Linked DNA regions of Homo sapiens: regions 1, 2, 3, 4 and 5 are each linked to region 6. The links are contacts of gene promoters, found by promoter capture Hi-C in blood cells and fetal thymus (Javierre and others, 2016). All regions are on one chromosome and are shown on one strand. Each heading gives the region's core, a stretch centred on a gene start or on the middle of the fragment in contact. The rest is flanking DNA. Distances are from core to core; before and after follow the strand shown. Region 1 overlaps TAF4B (TATA-box binding protein associated factor 4b). Region 2 overlaps TAF4B (TATA-box binding protein associated factor 4b). Region 3 overlaps TAF4B (TATA-box binding protein associated factor 4b). Region 4 overlaps TAF4B (TATA-box binding protein associated factor 4b). Region 5 overlaps TAF4B (TATA-box binding protein associated factor 4b). Region 6 holds the start of SS18 (SS18 subunit of BAF chromatin remodeling complex).

Evidence for each region. The method cuts DNA at HindIII sites, captures the fragments that hold promoters and counts their contacts. A CHiCAGO score of 5 or more calls a contact.
Region 1: a fragment that was not itself captured here is called in contact with the fragment with the promoter of SS18 in region 6 in 7 of 17 cell types (activated CD4 T cells, naive CD4 T cells, non-activated CD4 T cells and 4 more); the score reaches 24.1 in activated CD4 T cells.
Region 2: a contact is called between a fragment that was not itself captured here and the fragment with the promoter of SS18 in region 6, in 8 of 17 cell types (activated CD4 T cells, naive CD8 T cells, naive CD4 T cells and 5 more). The highest score is 23.1, in activated CD4 T cells.
Region 3: a fragment that was not itself captured here is called in contact with the fragment with the promoter of SS18 in region 6 in 8 of 17 cell types (non-activated CD4 T cells, activated CD4 T cells, total CD8 T cells and 5 more); the score reaches 14.3 in non-activated CD4 T cells.
Region 4: a fragment that was not itself captured here is called in contact with the fragment with the promoter of SS18 in region 6 in 7 of 17 cell types (activated CD4 T cells, non-activated CD4 T cells, naive CD4 T cells and 4 more); the score reaches 22.4 in activated CD4 T cells.
Region 5: a contact is called between a fragment that was not itself captured here and the fragment with the promoter of SS18 in region 6, in 7 of 17 cell types (activated CD4 T cells, non-activated CD4 T cells, total CD8 T cells and 4 more). The highest score is 17.3, in activated CD4 T cells.

Annotation. Positions count from the first base shown.
Region 1 is chr18:26,339,887-26,343,665 of GRCh38, forward strand. The region is part of intron 13 of TAF4B (TATA-box binding protein associated factor 4b); the gene reads left to right. Among named protein-coding and RNA genes, the nearest start is that of LINC01543, 81 kb to the right of the region's middle. The HindIII fragment of the contact is 2,578 bases long and covers 1,020-3,597 here.
Region 2 is chr18:26,301,620-26,305,471 of GRCh38, forward strand. The region is part of intron 9 of TAF4B (TATA-box binding protein associated factor 4b); the gene reads left to right. Among named protein-coding and RNA genes, the nearest start is that of TAF4B, 77 kb to the left of the region's middle. The HindIII fragment of the contact is 6,908 bases long and covers 1-3,852 here.
Region 3 is chr18:26,249,890-26,253,631 of GRCh38, forward strand. The region is part of intron 1 of TAF4B (TATA-box binding protein associated factor 4b); the gene reads left to right. Among named protein-coding and RNA genes, the nearest start is that of TAF4B, 25 kb to the left of the region's middle. The HindIII fragment of the contact is 3,163 bases long and covers 1-2,849 here.
Region 4 is chr18:26,319,623-26,323,537 of GRCh38, forward strand. It overlaps TAF4B (TATA-box binding protein associated factor 4b), which reads left to right. Exons shown (of 15, transcript NM_005640.3): 11 at 1,448-1,578. Among named protein-coding and RNA genes, the nearest start is that of TAF4B, 95 kb to the left of the region's middle. The HindIII fragment of the contact is 1,318 bases long and covers 1,834-3,151 here.
Region 5 is chr18:26,270,967-26,274,606 of GRCh38, forward strand. All of the region lies in intron 3 of TAF4B (TATA-box binding protein associated factor 4b), which reads left to right. Among named protein-coding and RNA genes, the nearest start is that of TAF4B, 46 kb to the left of the region's middle. The HindIII fragment of the contact is 4,735 bases long and covers 1-3,640 here.
Region 6 is chr18:26,088,562-26,092,145 of GRCh38, forward strand. SS18 (SS18 subunit of BAF chromatin remodeling complex) reads right to left here and starts at 2,052. Exons shown (of 11, transcript NM_001007559.3): 1 at 1,940-2,052. The coding sequence starts at 2,008. RefSeq lists an enhancer at 2,387-2,506. The HindIII fragment of the contact is 4,894 bases long and covers 1-3,584 here.

The DNA.
Region 1 (3,779 bases), core at 1,059-3,558, 250 kb after region 6:
CTTTGGGAAATGTGAGTTCAATGCATCTGTGCAGAGTGAGACAAAGAATTCATTTACTTTCTTTTTACCAATTCCTAGCATTCCACTTGGATTTATTATCGGATGGTGAGGGAGAAAAAGGAAATCAAGACCTCCTGGTATATTTGCTTCACAGTGCAACCTATAGGAACTGGGAAAAAGAATAAATACTAAATGATTAAAATGTAGACCAGATTAGAAGCCCTATATCCTAAAGTTTTTGGGATTTTTGTTTATAGAAAATATAGGTTATAAAAACTGTTGGTGCAATTCTTCATAAAACATTGTACAAGAAATAAAATACTGAATCATAAGGCTCATTACTGATTAGAAAATATTTAGGTACGAGAACAGCACAGTATATTTTTAAAATGAAATTTGAAAATATATGAAGTCAATGAAAGGTGATAGGTAAACTATTAAATTATATCAATTTGTATTTAAACTTCATGCAAGTTCTACATGGCCAAAACTCATGGAGTACTGGACAGGGACAAATGAAACTTGTCATGAAAAGTACATTCTAGCAATCAAATTAATATAGCAAGAGGAAGACATTCTTAAAATGACAAGTTATAAATAACTTGTGTATGACAGCAGAGAAACAGATTGAAAGGTTTCAAAGCATTGATAGTCTAGGACAGTGGTTCTCAAACGTTGACATGCATAAAATTATCTGGAGAGCTTGTTAAAATACAGATTACTAGGTCCCACAACCAGAGTTTATAATACTGTAGTAGGTCTAGGGTAGGACTTGAAAATGGGATTTCCAATAAATTACCAGATGTTGCTGCTATTGCTGCTGCTGCTCTGCAGATCACACTGAGAATCATTGATCTAGGATGAGAAAGAAGGGGGGCTTTAAAAGTCATCACTTTTATTTTCCCACTAACTAAATGGTCAAAATACTGTGATTTGGGAATCTGAGATTTGGCCTCTTGAACTGTCATAGTTCATTTATCATCCAATTATCATTCATTAGGTTCTCTTGGAACCATGAAAGCTTCACTAGGTTTCCTTCATGGATATTTTTACAAGATAACTTTAATGGTAGTATTTCTTTACTGGTATACCTTAAATGGAAAAGAAAATATTAGAGATTCATAAGAAGATTGCGTGCATACTTTATTTTGATGTGTAGGATCTATGTGTTTTGAGAGACTTATTACTCTCTTAGTAGAAAGATGCCTGTTTAAAAAAAAAATAGCATTGAACTGGAAGTAAAGTATCTTGGATTCTAGATTCAGGCTGCCATTATCAAGAGCTTGATTTAATTCTTTGAACTTACCTCTGTTTCCTCATATTTAAATGAACTTAACGATTCCTGCTCTGCTTATAAGATTGTCATAATTTAGGGGAAGGCGAGGCATAAAAGAAAAAACCAGTAGTTTATAAACACTAACTGTAGGAACATTTAAGATAGATGTCATTGAGCTCTTAGATTTAGGTTTGAGATAGACCATGAATATGTTCTTTCTTTCCTTCCAGAGGACTGGAAAGAAAATGAGAAGAAAAAAGAGTGTAAGGATGACAACTGAAAAAAAAATTTTGTAATATAGAATAACTGTAGCACATTTATATTTTACACAATTTATAAATCAAATGTTATTGGTTTAAGTTAAAGAGAGAAGGTGTCTAATTGAGATTATGAGGAATATACCATTTTTTTCAGGAAGGTAGGGATGGATGAGTAGGGTTGACCAGCAAGGCACCACAGTTTACGTATCAAATTCCAGGAATCTCAGATGTTCTGGACAGTGTCCTGGTATCATAATAACCAGCCTTAGTGGTTGGGAGAAAAAAAAATAGATTCTAAACTGTTTGATTTGGTGGAATGACTGCTAATAATTGTCTTTGAGGGCTTAAAAAAGATCTTGTATTTCGGTTGTGGTATCCTTGAAGTTAAGATAAGGTGGACTGGTGATTTTTTAAAAATTTGCAACTTGCTTTTTGGTTCCCTTGACTTAAGATTCAGCTGTTAATGTTTAGTAGTTTTTTTTTCCTGTTTGTTTGTTTTGTTTATTTTAGCATTTAACCTTGCATTCCCTGGTAAACTTGATCTTTTAAGTAATGATTCAGATGTAATTATCAGCATTGTTAAGAATTTTAGAGTTTGATCCATGAAATTTTCCAAAGTATATCTAATTCAATTTAAATTTTTACTATTTAAAACATTTCCATTGTTTGGTGTTAGGGTTTTGTTTTTACCTTTATGTGTACTTAACGTTAATTGTGAAATCTAAGCAGGACATTATTCTTAGTTCTTTTATCCTGAGTTCAAAACCTGGTGTGATACACTTTGTTTCTCTAATTTCTTTAGATTTTTTCATACATTCCTATTTGGTGGTGTGATTATTTTCATTGCTACTAACACTTTCCTTAAGCATGAGAAAGAAAAACATTTTTTGATTTCCCATATTGTCTATATCATAACTATCTAGATAAATTTGGTTCTTCCTGTTAAATGTGCCCCTGTTCCTGTCCAGGCTGTTAGCTAATATGAAACTTGGTTTATTCATTCTTCAGCTAGTACCTCTGATTCTGCTTAATCTTTTGGTTTCTGTTTTCAATAGTTTTTAATTTTCCTTTTATTCTTGAAAATTATGTGCTTAGCATCAAGAAGTACGTCTATTGAACGTTACCTCTGAGAACTTGTGTGATCTTCAAAGTAATTTCTTAATGTTTTTTGGGTCTTGATTAAAGGCTGTACTACCATGAGTTATACTTATAAATGAAGAGATGAGTACCTAACACCAGAAATAAAATAATCTTCAATTACTGTTGCTTAGTTGCCTTCTAAGGCACTACCTTGAATTTTAGAGACTTCTACTTCCTATCATAGAGACTGTGAAAAGAGAAATGAAGGCTTCTGCCTTTTTCATTAGCCATAAAGGAAATAGCATATTCTTAAAAGAGAACCTCCCAAACCTGTTTGGTCTCTTTGGAGCAAGGTGTTTGTTGCTGGTGTTGGTGAGCAAGCAGTCTTACATTTTATTAAACAAAGGCTAGTCAGTATATAATATAACAGAAACCAATTGTCAGAATTCTGGCTATTAAAGAGTTCCAGTTAAGATGGAGTAAAAACACTTCATATTTTCTCTCCCACTGAATACAACTATAAAACCTGAACAGATGCATGGAGCAGCTATTTGAGGACATTGAAAGGTAAATAGTAAACAGATTGGGGAAGAAGATAAGAATTCAAAATACTACTTGAACTGGTGGTGAGGTTGCCACCCTCCATCCCCTACCCCCATTCTTCCTACTGCTTGATTCTAGACCTGGATGCAATCACAGACGTGGGTGGGAAAGTGGGCTAAATCCCCAGCTTTCTGGCCAGGAGGAGCTCCAGGGAACCAGAAATTACTGGGAAGATGACAGAGAGGGAGGAGCTCAGGAAAGCAACCCCATGTGATTGTGTTAAACTCCTAGACCTACTCCTGAACTATACATTTGCCATATGTGGATCTTATTCTAATGAGCGTACCAAAGCCTTTAAGAACTGGACCAACAAACCACCACCAGATCCCAGATTGACCACTGGGGGATGCACAGGGCAGATCCAAATAACATTGCAAAAGCTTTGAAAACTGAGCTGACGTTGTAGCCACAGATCACAGAAGTCACATTGGAACCTGTGGCTTGAACCTGTGTTGATTGCATGCTAAAACAAAGGTATTAACATTCTCCAAAGGATTTCTAGAATACCCAGAGTTTCATAATACAGTTGACATAGGTTTGAAGTGTACAGGTCCACTTAT
Region 2 (3,852 bases), core at 163-2,662, 210 kb after region 6:
TGTTTCCAATGTCCGGGTTACCTGTGACTCTATTTCTATTATCTGGCTTTTTAATCCCGTTTCTTTGCTGCACTTGGTAATATTTAATTAAATGTCAGATCTGTATGAAAAACATTGGTAAATGCCTCACTTATTAATAGGATCATGGTCCATTCATCCCTCAAGTTCTGGCAGCCTTGGACTTCAACTTCTTGTCTCTCTCTCTCCTCATGAGATTGCCTAATGCTCTGTTGGCTTTTCTGCCTCTTAGCAGCTGCTGGCTCTGTGGTTTCTTAGTGTCTTGTTCCACGTCAAGAATCAGCATGTGCCCAGAGGAAAAAAAACATGGAGAAATTTGGGGTTACTTCAGTGAGGTTCTCTTCTCTCAGGGCTGTCGTCCCTCAAGACCTGGCTCCCTCGGCAGCTCTCTGATGCCTTCAAATAAACTTAAAATTGTTATGGCTTTATTAGTTTCTTGTCCTCAAAACAATTGTCTGATTGTTTTGAGGTTACAATGGTCTGTAACAGAAACAGAAGTCCTTTTTAATTCTTTATACTTTTTTTGTGTTACACATATCTACTAGAGTTAGTGTTTTGCAATTTACTTTCTTTTATGGTATATTTTGATGAACAGAAATTCTTAATTTTAAAGTTGTTGAATTTGGCAGTTTCTTTTATGATTAATACTTATGCCTTATTTTAGAGATCCTTCTGGAGATCACAAAGATAGTCTCCTATATTGTCTTCTAAAAGTTTTGAAGTTTCATATTAAATTTTTTTTTTTTTTTTTTTTTGAGAAATGGTCTCTGTCACCTAGGCTGGAGTGCATTGAGTGGCACTATCATGCCTCACTGCAACCTCAAATTCCTGGACTCAAACAAGCCTCCAGAGTAGCTAAGACAACAGGTACACGCCATAACAATTGGCTAGTTTTTAAATTTTTTGTAGAGATGAGGATCTCGCTTTGTTGTCCAGGCTGGTTTCAAACTGGTGGCCTCAAGTGATCCTCCTGCCGCATCCTCCCAAAGTGCTGGGATTACAGGTGTGAGCCATCATGCCCAGCCTATTTGAATATCTTTTTGTCTTCAGGAGTTAAAATTTGGTTTTTGTTTTTGCTATGGTTTGGAGGTTTAGAGATCCTGATTCGTTTTTCCCCATATAGGAAACCACTTGTTCTAGCAGCATTATTGAATAATTTGTCCTTCCTCAGTGATCTGTAATGTCTCCTATGTCATATATATATGGATCTTCTCTTTTTTTTAATCTTTCTTTTTTTAAAATGCCTCTAATCAATAGTTAATCTTTTTTATCTCTATTTCATTTTATTGGTTAATTTTAAAATTTCCAATAGCATACAGTTTAATTTACTATAATTTCAAAAGAAGTTTTATATTTGGTAATGCATATTTTCTACCTACTTCTCCTTCTTCTTTATTTCCTTTTCTTCCTCCACTTTCATACCCGCTCCACTTTCATACCCCCTCCACTTTCATACTCCCTCCACTTTCATACCCCCTCCACTTTCATACCCCCTCCACTTTCATACTCCCTCCACTTTCATACTCCCTCCACTTTCATACCCCCTCCACTTTCATACCCCCTCCACTTTCATACCCCCTCCACTTTCATACTCCCTCCACTTTCATACTCCCTCCACTTTCATCCTCCCTCCGCTTTCATCCTCCCTCCGCTTTCATACCCCCTCCACTGTCATCCTCCCTCCACTTTCATACCTCCTCCACTTTCATACCCCCTCCACTTTCATCCTCCCTCCACTTTCATCCTCCCTCCACTTTCATCCTCCCTCCACTTTCATCCTCCCTCCACTTTCATCCTCCCTCTACTTTCATACCCCCTCCACTTTCATACCCCCTCCACTTTCATCCTCCCTCCACTTTCATACCCCCTCCACTTTCATCCTCCCTCCACTTTCATACCCCCTCCACTTTCATCCTCCCTCCACTTTCATACCCCCTCCACTTTCATACCCCTTCCACTTTCATCCTCCCTCCACTTTCATCCTCCCTCCACTTTCATACCCCCTCCACTTTCATACCCCCTCCACTTTCATACCCCCTCCACTTTCATACTCCCTCCACTTTCATACTCCTTGGCTCTACTTGGGCTTTTGCTATTCCCTATACATTTAATGATCAACTTGTTAAATTCTACCAGTAATCTGTTAGAATTTGAATTGGCGTGGCCTGAGTCCATAGGCCCACTGTCTTCCAGCTGATTTATTATAATTTGGATCCTTCTATGAACATGATTTATATCTCCATTATATATACCTTTTTAAACATCTTTCAATAAAGTAGTATAATTTTATTTATGCAGATTCTGCATGATTTGTTGCATTTATCTGTTAGATTTATTCCTAGATATCTTTCTTGTTGTTATTATAAGTAATATTTTTGGTAACTGCCTTTTCTTTTACTAGCATAGAGAAATTCAGGACTTAAAAAAATCATATACCAACAGCCTTGTTATTATTTCTAATAATTTCTAGATGATTTTAGATTATTTATATAGACAATGTCAAGATTGAGATTAGAATTATAGGTCGACTGTTTTTTTTTTTTTTTTGCTTTGAAGATGTTATTCCATTGTTTTTGGGTGTTCATATAAAATATATGTTCACATTTAAAGATAAACATGCAAGGAAGTATCCTTGAGTCAAGCTACAGGGAAACAGTAATACATTTGGAATTCCAGTGACTTCAAACATAGGATGATCAAATAGTAAGTGTTAAAAAATAGTATAAAGTATTTAAAAATAAAATACGGAATCTCAAGAATGAGCAAGAAACTATTTTTAAAAATGACTGCAAATACTTGAAAAAGAACCAAATAGGACTTTTAGAAGTAAAAAATGTAGTCAATAAATCTAAAACTTTGTGGGACAGGTAAATCAGATTAAACCTGAGGGTCTAAACTGAGTTTGCTTTCTTCCAGAGAGGATTTGTGACTGTTTCTAGTAGACCCAGGGATTACTATTGACTTGGAACCACTTTAGTCTTCTTCCTGGGAACTTGACTTACCCAGGAGTCTCAGATACACTTTTCCCATTGTAATCAAGAACTAGTGCTAGCCACAGTCATTTGCCCTTGAGGCAATTCTTCCTTTAGGATATGCTTATTGCTGATTTTTACTGACACCTTTTTTTTAACAGGTCCTGTGAACCAAACAATGGAATGAAAATGTCTTATGCTGTGTAATTGCTCCTCAGTAAATCTAGTCCACTTACTGCCTGAAGGAAAAATGTCACTATAAGTATTTTCTTTGGGAAATTTCTGACTTATTACTTTCGCCCATTTATCTGTTGACTACTTATTGCTTTCCAGACTTATGTACATATGCTGGACAGTAGTAATTCTTTGATATATACATTGTAAGTATTTTTCTCCTAGTTTTTTGTTTAACTTGGAAATTTGTTTTTAGTGTTTCATATATGGAAAATTTAAATTACAGTATAAAGTTTAGCAGTCTCTTCCTTTATGGCTTTTGAATTCTAATGTATCCTTTCGTATTATGAGCCCAGAATGATGTGCCTTCTGTATCTTCTTCTAAGATACTTGTATGCACTTACCTCAAATACAGATATTTACCTTTATATCTTCAATAATTCTTGATTTTATTTTTGTAAATGTGTGAGGCAGAGATTAAATTTTCCTCAAATGAATTGTCTGAGCAATAGTTAGTAAAGAGTTCATCATCTTTAACTTTCTTATTTGCAATGCCACCTTTATCTTATAGTAAATTCCCATTTAAAAAAGGGCAAATTTCATTTTAGTGATATGTTTTTGTTTTATTTTATTTTATTTTTTGAGATACAGTTTCACTCTGTTGCCCAGGCTGGAGTGCAGTGGTGCG
Region 3 (3,742 bases), core at 18-2,517, 160 kb after region 6:
TTTTTGAATTTTTGATAGAGATAGGGTTTCACCATGTTGGCCAGGCTGGTCTCAAACCTCTGGCTTTATGTGATCCACCTGCCTTGGTCTCCCAAAGTGCTGGAATTACAGGCATGAGCCACTGCAGCCGTCCAGTTTTTGTTGTTGTTGTTGTGTTTGTTTTTGAAACAGGGTCTCACTCTGTCCCCCAGGCTGAAGTGGAGTGGCTCGAACATGGCTCACTGCAGCCTCAAACTCCTGAGCTCAAGTGTTCCTTGCCTCAGCCTCCCAAGTAGCTGGGACCACAGGCAGGTACCACCAGGCTTAGCTAATTATAAAAATTTTTGTGCTGGGCGCGGTGGCTCACGCCTCCTATCCCAGCACTTTGGGAGGCCGAGGCAGGCGGATCACGAGGTCAGGAGATCGAGACTGTCCTGGCTAACACGGTGAAACCCTGTCTCTACTACAAATACAAAAAATTAGCCAGGCATGGTAGCAGGCGCCTGTAGTCCGAGCTACTCGAGAGGCTGAGGCAGGAGAATAGCGTGAACCCGGGAGGCGGAGCTTGCAGTGAGCCGAGATCACGCCACTGCACTCCAGCCTGGGCAACAGAGCGAGACTCCATCTCAAAAAAAAAAAAAAAAAAATTTTTTTTTGTAGAGATGGGGTTTCACCATTTCGCCCAGGCTGGTTTTGAACTCCTGAGCTGAAGCGATCCACCCACCTCAGCCTTCCAAAGTGCTGAGATTACCAATGTGATCAGTGCTAACTATATCCTGGATTCTACGCTAAGTGCCATAGATGCAGTAATAAATAGGGTAGATATTCTGTGGGTTTAGTTTTTGTCTAACAAACTTATTTTTGTAAAATAATACATACATATAAAAAGACCAACAAATATGGAAAGTAAAAAGAAGAAAGTAAACATCACCTGAAATCTAACAACCTATCCTTAAAAAATGAAATTTAATAGAGATAAATAGAAGCTCAATTTTGGCAAATCAGCTGTGTAAATGGAGGATAGGGGAGATATACCATAACTAATAGCACGACCTGGGATATAAACTTCTTGATTGCTTTAATTTTTTCTTTTATTTATTCAATTCAGGAAATGAGGGAAATTTAAGTGACTTTAAGCTCTTTGTAAGGAAAACTGTGACGTGAAAAATGGAAGAAATTTGGCCTCTAGTGCCTGAGGAAGGAAACAACTTAGCGTCTAAGTGTTTCCAGTCCTATGGAAATGAGAGTGGGCTTATTCTGTGTGGTTGCAGAAGGTACCCTCACATCTCTGGATATTAATGGGAGGCACGTTTGGTTCCATATTAAGGAAGGACTTATATTCGTGATCTGCTTGTGAAAGAGTGACACAAAGAAATCTGCGTTTTCCTAACCCTGGACTATTTGAAAAGAGGCTAAAAGGTGACTAGTGAGGCATTCTGTATATGTATTAAATTGTAATAGATGAATTCTAGCATCTTTAAGGCTCTTAGATTTGTAAGGATCTGCTATTTTTTCAGGGGCAGTATTTACAAATGCTGTGAATGTGGAGAAGTCAGAGAACTTCCATTCAGATCAGCTTGACACCAAGAAATTGGCATTTTTGGATGTTGGGATGTAGCAGTTCACTGGGCTGAAGGGTAGAATATGTAAATCATGTACCAAGTAGAGAGTGGACACTGGACCACGATACACTTTAATATCTTAATATTTATAGAGGAACGGTGCTATGTAACCTAATATATGATTACATTCTGTCAATATGCTTGTAGAATAAACAGGCCATTCTTTTATGATTGGAAAAAGTGAGTCTCAGATACTTATCAGGATTGGATTCAAAGAAACTTGGTCACTGGTCTTCAGAGAAGAGACTAACATTCAGTTTCCCTTTGTTTTTAAGTGCTTTCTATTATATTATTGCTTCTCATTGGCATTGGGCCTTTGAGATAAATAATTGGTTAAGGTTGCAAAAGGAGTGTTTTGCATCTTGAAAACACTTTGGTCTGAAGATGAGCTGGTTATTTTATTCTCAGCATTGCCTGTCTACAGCTATTCTAATATTGCCTCCTACTGATGTTTTGAGTACTTAGTTGAAGAAAAGTTTGAATTGTGGACCTCTTGGCATTAATAGCTACCTGCTCAAAAATTCAAAAATCCTCTCACATATATTGTCTCATTTGGTTCCTTTAACAATCCAGTGAGGTGGGTCTGAGGTTTACCCATCCATGAACATGGATCTCTTTCCATTTATTTAGATCTTCTGTAATTACTTTCAACATACGTTTTTCAACGTGTTTTTTACATGTTGAAAGTAATTAAAGTATGAAGACATTTCTTAGTTTTCATAGTGTTAGTTTTGTACTTTGTTAAATTTATCCTTGAAGTATATTATTCTTTTTGGTGCTATTGTGAATAGAATCATTTTCTTAATTTCATTTATGGTTATTCATTGCAAGTGTATAAAAATACAGTTGATTATTGAATATTGATCTTGTATCCTGCTACCATGCTAAATTGATTACTTCTAATAGTTTTTTAGAGGGTTCATTAGGATTTTCTATATATAGTAGTTCCTCTTCCCTTATCTAATGGTTTCATTTACCCATGGTCAACTGCCTCCAAAAATATTAAGTGGAAAATTCCAGAAATAAACAATTTGTTTTAAATCGTGTGCCATTCTGAGTATCGTGATGAAATCTCCCTCCATTCCACTGCATCCTGCCTGAAATGTGAATCATTCCTTTGTCCAGTGTATTGACACTCTGTACACTTACCTACCTATTAGTTACTTAGTAGCCCTCTTGACTGTTATAGTACACAGTATTACAGCGTTTGTGTTCAGGTAACCCTATTTTAATTAATAAGGGCCCCAAAGCTTACAAGAGTGGTGATGCTGGTGGCATATTTTTTTATTCTATTCTATTTTTATTTTTATTTATTATTTTATTAGTTATTTTATTTATTTATATATATTTTATTATTAGTTATTGTTGCCAGTATGTTACTGTGTGTAATTTATAAATTACATTTTATCATAGGTATGTATGTATAGAAAAAACATAATATGTGGGGTTCAGCACTGTCTGAGGTTTTAGGCATCCACTGAGATTGTGGAACCTTATGAGATCATGCCATCTGTAAATAATTTTACTCATTCCCTTCTGATTTGGATGCCTTTTATTTCATTTTCTTGCCCAGTTACCCTTGGTGGAATTCTGAATATAATGTTGAACAAAAGTAGTGATTGTAGGCATCCTTGTCTCATCCTTCATCTTAGATATCCTTGTCTTATTCCTGATCCTTGGGAGAAATTCAGACTTTCACCAAAAGTATGATGTTATCTGTGGGTCTTCTGTAAATCCATTTATCAGGTTGAGAAAATTTCTGTTTCTCTTTTTTTGGGTCTTTTTATCTGAAAGAAAGGCTTGTTGAATTTTGTCAAATGCTTGTTCCGCATCTGTTGAGATGATCATGTGTTTTTTGTCTTTCATTCTATCGATAGGGTGTTTTATAGTAGTTAGTGTTTGGATACTAAACCACCCTTGTATTCTTGAGATAACTATCACTTGGTCATGGTATATAACACATATAAAACATTGCTGGATTCAGTTTGCTAGTACTTGGTCAAGAATTTTTGTGTCTATATCCATAAGGGATATTGACCTGTGGTTTTCTTGTGATGTCCTTGTCTGTTTTTGGTATCGTTAATACTGACCTTATAGATTGAGTTGGGACGTGTTCCCTGCTTTTTTATTTTTTGGAATAC
Region 4 (3,915 bases), core at 1,243-3,742, 230 kb after region 6:
CATGTTACCCAGGCTGGAGCGCAATGGTGCGATCTCAGCGCACTGCAATTTCCGCCTCCCAGGTACAAGTGATTCTCCTGTCTCAACCTCTCGTGTAGCTCGGATTACAGGCATGCACCACCACGACCAGCTATTTTTTTTGTATTTAGTAGAGACGGGGTTTCACCGTGTTAGTCAGGCTGGTCTCGAACTCCTGACATCAGGTGATCCACCTGCCTTGGCCTCCCAAAGTGCTGGAATTACAGGCGTGTGCCACCATGCCTGGCCTATGCTGAGGGTTTTATTAAAGTAGAGTTGACTTTGTAGAATTTTTTTCCCTGCCTGAATCTGAGATTAGAGAGGATTTCAGCTTTGTTACAAGTAATGAATTACATTTTGAAGGGTTGGTTTAGGAGAAGTTGATTAATTTTGTATCTTCCTATTTGCTTTCATTATATAATATCAATGTATTTGAGTTATTGACTTTTAATTCAAGCATATTTTTTCTGTAGTTCACCCTTTGATGAGAATATAAGAGTATATTTCAGGTAAATTAGAATATAAAATCAAACTATAATATTTTAAAAATTCATGTGTATATGTTAAAAACAATCACAGTAGTGCTTTTTAAAAAGCCTATTTAAAACAGATGACCTAATTGCCTGTATCTTTAGATTTAAGCCTCTGTTGATATAAGTGGTTTCACTGGGGCTGAGAAGTACTATTTAAATTACGGACAAGGTTGATTTATAAATGAACTTCTGACTCTTTTGAGTATGTGGTCCAAATTGTTTTCCTGAAACTTTCTTGCTAGTTAGCAGAAGGAAGAAGTTTGATTTTTTTATGGAAAGGAAATCTAGTGAGAGAGAAGTTATTCAGATAGGTAGGTGAAACGATGAGGTTTTGAACCCATTTGAACTTGTAAATTGACTACTAAGTGAATATATCAGAACATCAGTTAATGCAAAGTAAACATGATTGGTAATAGACAAAAGGAATATAGGTATGTCTTGTAGACAAGGCATTAACAGAGACTCATAATCTGAATTCATTTAAATAAATGTCATAAATTGTTAACAGTGTCAAACAGGGCAAAATGTAATTTTCTATTTTTTTAATTACTAAAATTAACAGAATATGGTACTAATTTCTGCAGTTACCATTTTCCTCCCTGAACAATAGACTTGATTTGTGTTCTTATTAACTTTGTCCTATAAATGACCTTGCAAGGAGAATGATTCTAGAGGCTAAGTGAAACAATGTCTATATTTTCTGAGGCTTCAGGCTAGGTTTTATTAATGTAATGTCTAAGATCTTTGAAGTTGTGACTTTACTAGGAAAATCATAATCTCCAAACCTTTATTCATAATGGGTATGACTTCCAGGGGGAACAGAATACCTGCTGTGCTAATTATTTCAATTATCAGCCACTACTAAAACACGTAATGGATTTTCTCTGCTTCTGCAGGTAAAAAGCATGACATTACAGAACTTAACTCTGATGCTGTGAACTTGATCTCCCAAGCAACACAGGAACGACTACGAGGCCTTCTAGAAAAACTGACTGCAATTGCTCAGCATCGAATGACTACTTACAAGGTAAAGGAAATCATTAAAGAAGTATAAACTCTCGAGTGTTATAGGTAGTCTTTTGGGCGTGGATTGATATTCTAAACACGTTTTTAAAGGAATGGTTGAGGCTTATATTTCATATTAGTGGAAAATCAAAGTCTCATTCTTATTTAGATAAGCTTACATGACAAATAAAATTAAAATGGAGTTTAAAATGATATTAAAAGCTTCTGTGTCACTGTAGATTGAAATATGTATCTGTTCTGCATGAGGCTTCTCTTAAGCTTTTGATGGGGAAGGAAAGATATGTTAGAATGGAATATTGGCTACTTGTGTTCTCTTCAGTGTTCTGCACTCTCCTCGCATTCCTGTTCCTTTTTTTTTTTTTGCCTTTCAGTTTTCCAGAGATTGATTTATTTTAAAATAAATTTTATTGTATATATTAATATTTAAGGTATACAACGTGTTAAAGATACACATGTATAGTAAAATTATTACTATTTAGTTGAATAAGTTAACATTTTCATTATCTCAAATCTACCCATTTTCTCCCCTGTGGCAAAAGCAGCTATAATCTACTCATTTAGCAGAAATCCTGAAAACAATATATTACTAACCATAGTCCTTATGTTCTACATTAGATCTTTCCACTTGTTCATCCTCTGTTCCTTTTAATAAGTTAAATGATTGCATTGAGTGCTCATATTGATGCTACTAAGTGTTATTGGCTACTTTTATTAAAAAAACTAAATACAGGAATAGCTTGTATCCCTAGTGGTATGAACCAAATGACTTGCTGTTATCAAGGTAAAATAACTTGATGTAGTTTTGGAGGAGGGCGAATATATTGGGTGATTAGGGATGAAAAGAGAAGGTAACCTGAGTTGAAAATAAATAAATAAATAAGATAACTGTTTCCCTCTTTCCAAGAAATGTTTATAGCTAGATTTTGAACAAGATGGTATGTAGGTAACCTTAAGAGATTTTGAATTTGGAAGAATGGTCATTGCCGTGATATCCTAGTCAAAGGTTAAAGGAAACTAGGAAATTGTCAGCTACTACACCACCAGTAAGTTCCCTGGAGGAATCATATTATTTTATTTTTTTTTCCTTTCCATTTAGAACTTTGGAAAAACTACATATGATTGCCAAGGTCCTCACTTGCATAAATCTTTGTGAGAATTTGCTGGACTGACTTAGGAATATGTGATCAACAGGAGAAAAAGCTATGAAAAAAACAAAAAATTAATATCAGTATTTTATAATTCCTAGAAACACACAAAAATAAATAAAGATATTAATTTTGTGTTTCTAGGAATTTTTTCATTTCTCCTAGGTTATCTAATTTGTTGGCATAGGACTGTTAATAATACTGTCTTGTAACCTTTTATTTCTGTAAGGTCAATGGTAATGATCCCCCTTACATTACTGATTTTTGTTATTTGCATCTTCTCTCTTTTTCTTCTTTGCTAGTAAAGCGAATGGTGTGTTGATTTTGTTGAGCTTTTCAAATAACCAACTTTTGGTTTTATTAATTTTCTGTTTTTCTATTTTTGATTTCGTGTATCTCCACTCTAGTTTTTATATTATTTTCCTTCTAAGCTTCAGGCTTAGTTTGCTCTTCTTTTTTTTTAGTTTCATAAGATGTAAAGTTAGGTTTTTTATTTGAGATCTTCCTTTTATAATGTAGGCGTTTACTACTATACATTTCCCTCTGAGTACTGCTTTCACTGCATTCCATAAGTTTTGGTATGTTGTGTTGTCGTTTTCATTTATCTTTAAATATTTTCTCATTTCTTTTGAGATTTATTTGATTCTTTGTGACTGTAGAGTATGTTGTTTAATTTCCAAATATGTGGGAATTTTCCAGTTTTCCTTTTGTTGTTGGTTTCTAGCTGTATTCCGTTGTGGTCAGAGAAGATACTTTGTATGAATCATTCATTTAAAATGTACTGAGGCTTGTTTTATGACTTAACATACATTGTATCCTGGAAAATGTTTCATGTGCACTTGAGAAGAATGTGTGTTCTGCTCTTGTTTCATAGATGTCTGATAGATATAGTTGGTTTATAATGTTAAGTCCTCTGTTTCCTTATTGATCATCCATCTGGATGTTCTATTCATTATTGAAAGTGCAGTATTAAAATCTTCAACTATTGTGGAGCTCTATTTTTCTTTTTGTTTTAGAGACAGGGTCTCACTCTGTCATCCAGGCTGGAGTGCAGTGGTGCAATCATAGCTCATTGCAACCTTGAACTCCTGGACTCAAGCACCCTCCCACCTCAAGCCACCCTCCCACCTCAGCCTTTCCAGTAGCTAAGACTAACAGGCGTGTGCCACCACACCCAACTAATTTTTTTTTTT
Region 5 (3,640 bases), core at 925-3,424, 180 kb after region 6:
GACCATTTATTTTTCTTAGCTAATTTAGGTTGATGCATATTTTAAGTTGGGCTACTCCTTAGTGGTAGCCTAGAACAGTGGAAATTAGTAAAGAATGAAGTTAATGATATCTGTCCACTTTAAGGGATAAGCATCTCAGTTTTAGGCATGGAAATAAGGAGCTAGAACTTAAAAATGAGAGAAGATACAACTCCTTGTACTTGATTGTCAGACTGTAAATGCAAATGTGTGTGTTAAGAAATTTTGAAAGTATTTTCCTATTAGGCTTAGTCTGATAAATATAACACAAGAACTAGTTAGAAATCTTGTGTTCACTTTTACCTTGTATTTGATGAAGATGTAGTTTGGCCCATTGTTAGATTGGAATCTAATGTGCAAATGACTAGTATTTCTAATTAAATGTGAATAAACCTAAAGCAATTGCTGTTTCAGACAGGTACAGAAAATGACCCTCCTTGAAATGCTATTTCATCTTCTAAATTTCCATACAACTCATTTTATTGGCTCTGTGTAGAATTGGTTTTCACACATTTATTTCACATATACTTCAGTCCGTTTTCCTCCTGTCCTCAAGACATGCCTAGTCAGTCAGTGCAGCCTTGAAAAGCATTGAAGTTACCATTGGCTGGTCTGTTGAGTCAAAGGCGGAGTTGTGATTGAGTTTAAGACACTTTGGGCCAGGCATGGTGAGTCACACCTGTAATCCCAGCACTTTGGGAGGCCTAGGCAGGTGGATCACCTGAGGTCAGGAGTTTGAGACCAGCTTGGCCAACATGTTGAAACCCTGTCTCTACTAAACATTCAAAAATGAGCCGGGTGGTGTGGTGGGGGGCGGCTCTCATCCCAGCTACTCAGGAGGCTGAGGCAGGAGAATCACTTGAACCCAGGAGGCGGAGATTGCAGTGAGCCGAGATCGCACCACTGCACTCCAGCCTGGTGGACAGAGCCAGACTCCGTCTCAAAAAAAAAAAAAAAAAGACACTTTTAAGGGTGAGGGGGAATGGAATTTATTAGGCGAAAAGAAAAAAAAAACTCAGCAAAGCCAGAGGGGTTCCCGTTAGCAGGCCCCCATCTCACAAATTGAATCTCGGGTCACCACACAGGAACAGGAGAGGCCAGGCTCCTCCCCCTTGCAAAGGGCCTGATCTTCCTGAGGCTCCACCCCTCCTCCTCCCAGTGGGCAGGCGCGTGGGGGATTCTTCTGGAACCTTTCCCCTAATCTTCCGGTTGCGTCTATCAAGATCATCAGGCATTAGATTCTCACGAGGAGAGTGCAGCTTAAATCACCTGCATGTGCAGTTCACGAGAAGGTTCATGCTGCTATGAGACTAATGGCACCGCTGGCCTGACAGGAGGCAAAGCTCAGGCAGTAATGCTCACTTGCCTCCTCTGTGTGTCTCTATTCCTGACAGGCCACAGACCTATACCCGCCCGCGGCACAGGGGTTGGGGACCCCTGTGGTAAGATACAAGTAGTAGCTATACTAGAAAGTGTTATGAAGGACAGATTTTTTTTTTACTGGAGACAGGATAAAACATTGACAAGGAAAATAGAATTCCATAAATGCCCCCTCTACTTGTAAACGATAGGACGTTTTTCCTAAACTCACATTTCAGTTGGACCTTAGTTTGCTTCCTGAGGGAGGGGGACAGTACACCCCCAAGGAACCTCTCCCATCAGTCCTCAGAGGTGATCATAACCACCAGCTAAAATTCCAGATTACACTTTCTTAAATATGGCAGTACAGAGAGTTAATGACTGATTATAAGATAGACTAAAGAAAGAGGCTTATTTACTGTATAGAAAACTAAAAATTTATTAGAAAATCTCCACAAGAATTCAGAAGAAACTGAGTGGTAGGTTGGAGAGCAGGACTAAAGATATGAAAAGGAGGGAGACTTCCTTTTGAATGTGCATTTGAGGCTCTATATTTAACAAAATTGTACTAACTTAGGTGTAATTTTTAATTTTATCTCTTTTGTTAAAAACTTTATTGTTCTAGTCCTCATCATTAATCAGTAATTTTAAAATCTTATTAAAGTTTTTGCCAGGTGAGCCTTTAGTTTACTTTTCTTTTATTATCCTTATTCAATATTGAAATATGTTACAGACCTTTCTCATAAAATGAACTGAACAGCTTTCCCTATTCTGTTTTTCTAGAACATGTTGTATAAGACAGGAGTTATGCAAAAGTGTGGAAAAATCACATGGAAAATATCTGAGCCTGGAGACTTGAGGGAGGGAGGTCTTTTTGGGTATCATTTCAATGTCTTTAATTTGTCTATTCTAGTTTCTGTGTTTTGTGCTAATTTTGTCATTTCATGTTTTTCCAAAAACCCTTTTGGTTTTGTTTCAAATGTATTAGCATATGGTATTTAATATTTTTATTATGCATTATGAAATATACATGCAAACAAGACTACATGTGATATGTACACATATGTAATATGTACACATATGTAATATGTCTGCTGTTGAAAAAAATAATAGTAAAATGAAGGCCCATATACCCCAAACCCATGTTAGGGCCACCATGTGTCCCCACTCCTCTCCTTCTATCAATTCTCAGCATTTTAAATGTTCTTCCTGTTTGTAAAGAAAATTTTTTTCTAGAGACAGGGTCTTGTTAGGTTACCCAGACTGGTCTCGAACTCCTGTCCTCAAGCAATCCTCCTGGCTCAGCCTTCCAAAGTGCTGGTATTGTAAGTGTGAGCCACTGCACTTGTCCTTCTTCCCATTTTTTACCCTCAGAACATTCTTGTCTAGTACATATTCCAGTCTCTCTAATGTGGGAGATTTTATTGTACATTCAAATTCACCTATCTTGACTATTATAGAAGGAAATTTTCTTGAAGGTGATTGCAACTTGACCTTTTTGTGTTGCATGCTTGTAGAACATAGACATTTAAATTAAATGATGGTGCATTGTTCAGTTTTCTGTGTGAATTGTATGTAAATACTATTCCTTATCCCTGATCCCCAAACTTTTATTATGTTCTGTAACTTTTAGTGTTTGTCTTTAAGATTGTTGCTTTATCTCAATGTGATTTTCTAAATTACTGCCTGACTTGTGATTGCTTGTATGAGGTTTTTGTCCTGTAGGTGATGCTAGCTAGAGTCACACCTCATTTTGATAGAAGGTAGAGAAACAACTGAAATTCTTTTCAGTGTGAATATAAGATACCACGTTTTATAATATTCTTCATGCTTACTTTAATGGTCTACATAAAAGCAGTTTATCTAAATTTTAGATAATAAGTAGATTGCTCTGCTTTGTTCTTAAGAAAAAGCAGAATATTCTATGTTCTCATAAAGACTTTCAGATACTTCTTGGAGTATTAATAATATTTTTTGAGGACTTATTTGCTTTAGCACTGTTTTTCACAAAAAATCCTAGGACAGCAGGTACCGTTGCAATCCCTATTTTTGCAGAGAGTAATCAGGATTAGCAAGATTAAGTAACTTGCCTGCAGTCAACACTTGGTAGGTGGTAATGAAATAGTAGATGGGGTGAGAATGAAACCCAGATCTGCTAGACTCAAGAGTTCCTAGAACTGTATTATATTGCCTTAGACTACTAGAGCATAACATAAAACCACAGATGTCAAAATTAACTTGTCTGATGAGTGTGAAATGAGGC
Region 6 (3,584 bases), core at 802-3,301:
AGCAATCTTGGCTTTGAGGGTTAAATAATTCATCTAAGTAAAGTGGAGCTGAAGAAAGAGTACTGATTGTAGCAATTAAAAGGCCAGTTAGTTTCAGTGCCAGTTTTGCCATTTTGAGCAAGTCACTTAAGTTTTCAGGGGCTGATTCAGCTGTAAGATCAAGGGACTCAGGATATGCTCCTCCAGAACCTGCCCCACCCTACCAGTATTCAAAAGTATTAGCACAATACCATAATCACGCAATCTAAATAAAAGGAACATCCATTTAACATTAACTGTCACTTTTTTATGCACGTGAATCATAATCTTCACTTACTGGGGGAAAAAAAAAACCACTAACATGATCTGCTAATAAATGCAGTTATTTCTTAAATAGAACCATTGGATGACCAAAAAAAGTCCTTAAAAAGCACGAATCCAGTCCTCAACCTAATGATTTCACAACTTATTATCTCCAGTATATTCCTCAAACTATTGAACTTCACCATTAAAATATCTGTCTCACATCTAATATCAATCTCTCCCATTGTAGAATAAGGCAATTAATTTAGAGCCCATTTTTCTGTTCAGCTGAGAATGGAAAATAATTGATCAGCATCCTCCGAATTAATCATTATCCATGATAAATATCTTCAGACTTATGTAACAGAAACTATAAAAAAAAAAGAAAAACTCTGGACTTTTCCTGTGTACAAAAATAAAAAAGGTGAGCCCTCCAGAAACGCAGTTTTGCGTGAGTGCGTACTTGGAGCTGTTTGCCAGGCTGCAGACTTAACTCAGAGCACTATATGAAAGCACTGCATTTCCAGGCACTGCCAAGCCCGTTTGTTCATAAAATAAAGCAACAGTTGGGCAAATGTCAAAAGCCACACTACGAAGAACCTGACAGTAAACAGAAACCGATTAGCATAATCTACGTGGTCTGAGTGGTACTAAAACTTGACCTTTTTTTCTATTTTGATCTTTGCTACACAGCATAAAACAAAACAAAAATATTTAAAGTAAACTGCTAAATACAGCAGCAACTTCTGAAAGTCTAGGTCAGTAAAATTTAGAATGCTGCCTTGCTTGCAGGCAACAAGGGGTAGAGGACAATAAAGAACCTTTGTGTTCCGACTGGCAGTAACACAGCAGCGACTGCAGCAGCTCTATCCTTTAAAAAGGAGGCAGCTCCCTGTGTATTTATCACGACTTACATTAACTGGTCACGACAGTCTCCACCATTAGACTGTAAGCTCCAGGAAGGCAAGGACCATGACTCACCACAGTAGCCTCAGCGCCTAAAATAGGCGCTCAATAAATATTTGCTGCAGAATAAATGAATAGGCGGCGATGCAGAAGGGAAGAAGAGGCTCTGGGGACAACCCCAGAGTCCATGGGGACCTTCCTTGCCCGCTCCTCAAACTCTATACTAAGGTTCCCTCCAGCGTTCCCCAAGTCCTCCTGCGAGCTCCCAAACTCGGCTGAGTTTGCAGGGCGGCGACCAGCGCACCGACTTCCCCTCTGCCTGCCGCGACCCGCGGTGGGGTCCGCACGAAGCAGCCGCGGCACGCGGGGCGGGGCGACGCCAAAGTAACTCCGGAGCAACGCGCGGGGCCGCCGGTCCGACACACGCCCTTCCCTGAGCGGCCGCCGCCGGGCGCACGCGCCCCGCAGCCCGAACGCCGCCCCATCCCTAGAGAAATCAGGCGGCGGCTGTTTGGGCTTTTGTGTCTGTAGAAAAACGCGTAAATGCGTGAAAGACTCCGAGAAAAACCGGTTCACCCTCTTCCGCCACCCACTCAGGCACAGCCAGCAGTCCGTGTTCCCAAACACTGCTGATTCCCAGCAGGCCCGCCTCCGCCTCGGCCCGGTCGACTCCGGGCCCGGCCCTTCCCCCCGCGTCTGTCTCTCCCAGAGGCGGTAAGGGCCTGGCATCCGCAACCCCGCGCGGTTTCACCTTCTGAATCGCAGCGGGAGTGATCTCCCCCTTGCCTCGCTGCCTCGGGGCCGCGAAAGCCACAGACATGTTGCCGCCGTCACCACTATCGGCAAGTCCCGAGCGCTCCGGGTGAACGGCAAACTGGGGGAGAGACGCCGGCCTCTCGGGCTGAACCACCTCGGGAATGCGGGGAGGGGGGATGCTCCGGGGCCAAGCGGACGGGCGGCGGGGCAGGCCTGAAGGAGGCACTCTGGCCAGGGATGTCTCGCTTCTGCGCACTCTGGGGGACCCCTAGCCCTGGCCGAACTTTCTTGACCGTCCCTGCATCCCCCGAGCTCTCCTTATGGGCACCCCCTGGCCCTTTGCGCTAATGGTAGAGTCGCGCCCTAGTCCTCCCTCCGCTTCAGCGATTCAGGAAATGGTCCCGCCGCCGCGGGAGAAGGAGAGGCTGGGGCAGCCCCTGTCACAGGAAATGCGAGCGGCCCAAGCCGGCCCGCCCCCTTCGCGCCGTGGCAACTTGCCTCCCTCTCCGGCCCTCTGAAGCGTCTCCCCGACTGTGTTGCAGAGCGTGCCCTAGACCTAGTTCAGTTTTTCCAACTTCATCCTTACTTACGCCTCCTGGCAAGAGTGGCCGCCCCGAGTTGTCCCGGCAGCCCGGAGAGGGGAGGGAGGTCAAGACTCGGGAGTTCGTGCAAATCCGTGGAGCATCTGCCGAGATAGGGCAGAGGTGGAAGGACAAGGTGAACGCGGATTCGCTGGTTTAAATGGCTCGGCTACGCCCCAAATGCGCACCTCCGAGTCCACAGTCTCGCACGCACGCACAAAGTCGTGCCTAACAATTGGAAAGTAACCCTGACCCGAAACCGGGACACCAAGGTTGTGTCCAGTGCTCAGGGGCAATCGGCCAGCTTGGCTGGAGCGGACAGAGAAGAGCTCGCCTCTTGGGACAAACCCTTAGCAGGAAAGTGGGTCGATTTCGTCTGACTTGGCTTTTTGGAATTAAGTTGTGAAACAGGGCATCCTCACTCTCTGTTTTTTAAGAGAGTACTTACTTAGTGCCTTGTAAATTAGGCCCAAGCTGCCAGGCTTCAAGTCAGTGTAAGGGAAAAAGGCAAAGTTTTCAAATTATGGAAGGAACACGGACAAATGTGGGTTTTGTGTTGCCGTGGGGTTTTAAAGTATTCTGTAAATTTAGACTTCCATATAACACAAAGGGAAAGTTTATATAAAGTGTTACCCAACGTTAATGAATAATAAAAAATATTTCCATTTTTATATAAATTGGAAAAATAAAGAAAAAATACATTATTTTAAAAATTTAATCACTTGAGGCCAGGAGTTTGAGACCAGCCTGGGCAACAAAGTGAGACCTCTGTCTCTACAAGAATTTTAAAAATTGGCTGGGTATGGTGGTGTGCACCTGTAGTTCCAGCTACTAAGGAGGCTGAGGTGGAAGAATCACTTGAGCCAAGGGGGTGGAGACTGCAGTAAGCCATGACTGCCCCACCACACTCCACCCTGGGTGACACAGCAAGACCCTGTCTCAAAAAAAAAAAAAGAAAAATTAAGTATCAAATAAATGCTCTTCACAAAAATGTCAAGAATGTCATTGATTAAATGCATTGTTTGTTAGGCTTTATACTGGAAACCTAGGGTACGATTG